2 separate regions of the Homo sapiens genome follow, and region 1 is linked to region 2. The links are contacts of gene promoters, found by promoter capture Hi-C in blood cells and fetal thymus (Javierre and others, 2016). All regions are on one chromosome and are shown on one strand. The core of a region is centred on a gene start or on the middle of the fragment in contact, and the rest is flanking DNA. Distances in the headings are between cores, read along the strand shown. Region 1 overlaps ZFP91 (ZFP91 zinc finger protein, atypical E3 ubiquitin ligase). Region 2 holds the start of UBE2L6 (ubiquitin conjugating enzyme E2 L6).

Region 1 (2,928 bases), core at 275-2,774, 1.0 Mb before region 2:
CCCAGAGCTCACATCATACGCAGTGGTAAAAGACAAAGCTCTCCTGCTAAGGTCAGGAACAAGACAAGGATGCCCTCATTCTTCACTTCCATTCAACACTGTACTGGAAGTTCTAGCCAAGTAATTACTCAAGTAAAAAAAGAGGCACCCAAAGTGAAAAGGAAGAAGTAAAACTGTATCTCTATTTGCAGGTGAAAAGACCTTACATATAGAAAATTCTAAAGAATTTTCACAAAAGAAAACTGTTAAAGGTCATATACAAATTCGAAGGGCCAGAATATAATACCAACACGTAACATTCATTGTTTTAAGCATATTAGCAATGAACAAAAAGGAAATTAAGAAAATAATTATTACCTTTATTCAAAGTGCCAGAATATATGACCAACATATAACATTCATTGTTTTAAGTATATTAGCAATGAACAAAAAGGAAATTAAGAAAATGATTACCTTTACAATAGAATAAAAAGGAATAAAATATTGAAAAATTGTTAAGATGACAATACTCTGAAAATAAACCCACAGATTAACTGTAATTCTTATCAAAACCCCAGCTTCCTTTTTGGTAGAAATTGACAACCCAATCCTAAAGTTCACAGGAAAATGCAAGGGATCTACACTAGTCACAGCCATCTTGAAAACAAACAGAATTAAAGACGCACTTTTTTCTTCTCAATTTCAACACTTACTATAAAGCTTCAGTAATCAATACAATGTATTACCGGCATAAAACTAATAATAATTGAATCAACTAACTGAATTAAAGGTCCAGATATAAATCTATACATCTGTGGTCAACTGATTTTTAAGAAGGTGGCTAAGACCATTCAGTAGGTGAAAACAGTCTCTTCAAGAAATGGTGCTAAGACAAATGGATATCCACATGCAAAAAATGACGTTGTATTCCTACCTTATACCATATATAAAAATTAACTCAAAATGGATCAAAGACCTAAACACAGGAGCTAGCACTAAAAAATGCATAGAAGTGAAGATAACCCTACAGAATGGGAGAATATATTTGCAAGTCATATATCTGGTAAAAGTCTAATATCCAAAATATATAAAGTCTTTGGATTTAACAACAAAAAGAGAAACAACCCAATTAAAACATGGGCAAAGAACCTAAACAGATTATTTCTCCAGAGATATACAAAAGGCCAAAAAAGTACTTGAAAAGATACGGAACATCAGTCATTAACGAAATGCAAATCAAAATCACATGAGATTACCATTTCCCACATACTACAATGGCTAACTAAAAATAATAAAAAAAGAAAATAAGAAGTGTTGGTGAGAATGCAGAGAAATTGGAACCATTGTTTATTGCTGGTGGACATGTAAAATGAGGCAGCTAATGAGGAAAACAGTGTTATGGAAAACCTAAGAAAACAGTGTTAAGAAAAATGTTAAGAAAAACTTAGACACAGAATTACCATATGATCCAGCAATTCCACTTCTAGGTACATACACCAAAAATTGAAAACAGCTATTCAAAGAAATACTTATTACATATGAATATTCATAGAAGCACAATTCTCAATACCCAAATTGTGGAAACAACCCAAATATCCATTAACCAGTGAATGGATAAACAAAATGTCATATATACATACAACGAAAATTTTTATCCAGCCATAAAAAGGAATGCAATCTTAACATGTTACAATGTGAACCTTAAAAATATGCTATATGATAGATGCTAGAAACAAAAGTCACATATTGCACATATTGTATGATTCCAATTACATATAATATCCAGAATAGGTAAATCCATAGAGACAAAGCAGATTAATGTTTGTTGCAGCTGAACAGGAGGGAAGGGGGAATAACTGCTTTTAATGGGTACAGGGGTCTCCTTTGTTGGTGGTGATGAAAATGTTTGGAACTAGATAGAAGTGATGGTTGTACAACACTGTAAATGTACCAAATGTCACTGAATTGTATGCTTTCAAGTATTTTTTACTATTTTTTTGTTATGTGAATTTCACCTCAAAACACACACACACACACACACACACACACACACACACACGTGCACAAAAGTATTGCCAGGTTTCTGGAATAGAAATTGACAACTGAAGGACAATCCATACATTAGCATAAACAATCATAAACAGATAGGAAACAAGCCAAGTTTCTTCTGTGTGGTACTTCAAAGACAATTTCCAGTTGTTTCTTATAATAGCAGCTAACCTTGAGGAGGTTCCTTGATACATAAATAATAAGAGAAAAAAGCCATACTAGCTTGGGTAAAGGAAGACATCATACTAGTCACTGCATGAGCAACATGCAGGCACAGTGAATATAACTACAGTTAGTTAACCCTTGAACAACAAAGCTTTGAACTGCATGGATCCATTCATACGCCAGTTTTTTAAAATATGTAAGAAAATTTTTTGGAGATTTGTGACAATTTGAAAAAACTTGCAGACAAACTGTGTAGCCTAGAAATATTGAAAAATTAAGTTATGTCATGAATGCATAAACTATAGATACCACTCTATTTGATGACATTACTGTAAAATATACACAAATATAAAAAGTTAAAATTCAACAAAACTTACACACACAAAGTCTTAGACTATATATGGTATCATCCAAAGTCCAGAGAAATGTAAAGAAACGTAAAGATGTACTAATGAATAACTGCATAAAATTAACTCCGTACATAATAATTTCATAGCTATCTCCTGTTGCTATTGCAGCAAGCTCAGCTGTTTCAAGTATCTGCTTAAAATGTCATGAGGATAATCATCACCACCTGAGTGAATTTACTGTCACAGTAGAAGTGGTATCTCTCAGTTAACTCATTTTTCACTATGTTTAGAGCAATACCTGAAACCTTGACTAACACTACGGGACCCATAAGAGTTGCCACTAGTGATACTGGAAGTGCTTCCAAGAAGCAGAGAAAAGTCACGG
Region 2 (2,716 bases), core at 164-2,663:
AGAAGTCATTTGGTTTCAAAATACTTGGATAAAAACATTACGGTGGCTCACGCCTGTAATTCCAACACTTTGGGAGGCCGAGGCGGGTGGATTACTTGAAACCAGGAGCTCGAGACCCTGACTCTACTAAAAATACAAAAATGAGCCGGTCGTGGTGGCGCGCGCCTGTAAATCTCAGCTACTCAGGAGGCTGAGGCACGAGAACAGCTTGAACCGGGAGGCGGAGGTTGCAGTGAGCCGATATCGCCACTGAACTCCAGTCAGGGCGACAGTGAAACTCTGTCAGAAAAACAAGAAACAAAAAAACTGTGAGGTACTGAGATCACAAACTGGTGCTCAAAATATACTGATTTCCTTTCTCGTCTGGACTAAACGGGGGTAGGGAAGGGTGAGAAGGAGGGGATCGGCCCTCCCAACAAGTCTCATCTTCCCCAGATGCTGCTTGGTGCTCAGGGGCTGCAAGTACTCTGTCCTTGCACAGAGGGTTGGGGACTCCAGCTGTGCATGGGGGCACACATTAGGCCCACAGCTTGTAATGGACCAGTAGTAAAGTAAGGGAGGGGAAGCAGACTCTCTCTTGGAAAGGAGGCTCCTGAGTCCTTCTTGGGGCTTCCCCCACCAACTGTTTCCCAAACCAGCATACAGTAGGCACTTAGTAAATACTAAACCTAGTAAAGGACTGAATGATGGTAGACCGAACCCCCAAAGCAAAAGAGAAAGGGTCCAACAGCGCCTCCTTGCGGTGCTCTGCCCCAAGCCACGGGGAGAAACGTTGCAGCCCGCGCCGAACGCCGGGCAGCACAAAGGATCCCCGACTGCCGGGGAGCGGTGCTCGGAGGGCACAGGTCTACGCCATCCCCCACGCAGTTTCGGAGATGGAGCGCTGGGCCCATGGAGGGAAGGCGGCAGGCTCGGCGGCTCCGGCAGCTTGCTGGGGCAGGGGCTCAAGGCGGCAGTCCGATAGTGGAGGCCGCTGAGAACTGTCACGGAGCTGCGTCTGTACAGCGAGCATCCCTTATTTATTCAGGGCGAGTGTGTATTTGGGGCGGCGTGCAGGGGGCTGACAAAGACCGGAGAGCTCCCGGTGCGGCCGCCGGCGGAGCGAAGACTGGAACCCGTATGAGCGCCCCCCAGCGCCCCTGAGCGCTCGCCGCCGGTGCACGGCGCACCCCGCGGGAGGCAGGGATCAGCAAAGCCGTGCGCCCCGAGGCCCGCCCCCGTCTCCGCACAAAGACCGTGAGTCCCGGGTCCGAGCCTTCCGCGCGGGGATCGGGCGGTTGTCCGGCGGGTCGTCCTTCGACGGCCTCCTGGCCTCGCCGGAGCGGGTGCGGGGAGGCCCACGCAGCGACGGCTGGAGGAGGGGTGGGCGGGGCTGCCGGGGGTGGGGTCCCCGGGGCGGGGCGGGGCGCGCTGTGTCGCGGGTCGGAGCTCGGTCCTGCTGGAGGCCACGGGTGCCACACACTCGGTCCCGACATGATGGCGAGCATGCGAGTGGTGAAGGTAACCGCGTATAGGATGACCCCTTTCTCTTGGCTCCCCTCGCCTCCCGCATTCCCTCCTCCCTCCATCCCCTCCGCGGCTCTCCGAGCACATTTATTTATTTGTCTGGGCACCAGGGCTGGCTGAATCCCTGTCCTCCCCGCCCTCTACTCAGAGGAGGACTGGCCTGCAAGAGTGGCCAGAGCTGGGGTTTTGGGGGTTTGGAGGCCTCTGCTTGAGCCGTTCGCGTGGTGAAGATGAGCCGGCTCCCCCAAAACTGGTTTCAATTTCGCTTTTCCTGCCTGAAACTTGTGATAACAACTGGGTGCATCTCCAGTGCAGGAAAAGTCCTTGGCATCTTGGTGCCAGGCATTCTGCTACTGCTGGTGGTGGGTTATGAACACAGATGACCAGGATGAAGTCCTTGCCTTGGAATAAGCCCATAGCCCATCCCATAATTTGATGCCTGTATTACTAGAGTCCTGAGAAACACGGAATGCTGATTAGAATTTGGGACAAAGTTCCCTGAGTATTCTCTGGAGGAAAAGATGCGGAGGTGGACCTGGAAGGCCTCCTGGAGTAGGTGGCTTGCGTTCGTGAGTTCTACAAGTGTTGAATGCCTACATGTGCTGGCCCTGTTCTAGGAGGGGGGGGGGGGCGGGCAGAGATGAACACAAATCCGGCCCTTGTTGAATTTTGTTCCTATCAGGGACACAATTTGAAATAAGATCTGGAAGGATGGGGAGGGGGCAGTTTCCTCCAGAAGGTGGGAAAACCCAGGGTGTTTGGAGATGGATTAGGGAGGAAGGTGATCCTGGTGAAGTGAGTCTGGCACCCCAAGTCTTTCAGAAGTGCCCCTTCCAGTCTGCAGGGTGGAGGGGCAGGCTCTAGGAAGAGGGTGCCTGCTACCCTCAGCCTCTGAGAAGAAAATGGCCTCAGACTGGGATGCCCAGAGCAGGCTTGGCCTAGATACTAAATCTGGAGGTTGGCAGCAAAATGAGGCAGAGGGTCTTTCCAGCCAAGTGGAAGAGAGATGGGAGCCAGAATTTATTGCATTGGAACCATTACATGCCAAACGGTTTACATGGTTATTTCATCTAATTCGCACAGCAGTTCTGTGAGATAAGTAATATATACCCGCATTTTACAAATGAGGAAATTGAGGCACAGAGGAAATAACTTGCTTGTCCAGAGTCTTTCAGTAAGGAGCAATGGGACTGGAATATGAAACCAGGTC

What was found. The method cuts DNA at HindIII sites, captures the fragments that hold promoters and counts their contacts. A CHiCAGO score of 5 or more calls a contact.
Region 1: a fragment that was not itself captured here is called in contact with the fragment with the promoter of UBE2L6 in region 2 in 1 of 17 cell types (naive CD8 T cells); the score reaches 5.1 in naive CD8 T cells.

The regions. Positions count from the first base shown.
Region 1 is chr11:58,597,860-58,600,787 of GRCh38, reverse strand. The region is part of intron 2 of ZFP91 (ZFP91 zinc finger protein, atypical E3 ubiquitin ligase); the gene reads right to left. The region is part of intron 2 of ZFP91-CNTF (ZFP91-CNTF readthrough (NMD candidate)); the gene reads right to left. Among named protein-coding and RNA genes, the nearest start is that of ZFP91-CNTF, 20 kb to the right of the region's middle. The HindIII fragment of the contact is 1,645 bases long and covers 702-2,346 here.
Region 2 is chr11:57,566,369-57,569,084 of GRCh38, reverse strand. It overlaps UBE2L6 (ubiquitin conjugating enzyme E2 L6), which reads left to right and starts at 1,413. Exons shown (of 4, transcript NM_004223.5): 1 at 1,413-1,500. The coding sequence starts at 1,474. RefSeq lists a silencer at 1,050-1,409 and an enhancer at 2,663-2,716. The HindIII fragment of the contact is 19,025 bases long and covers 1-2,716 here.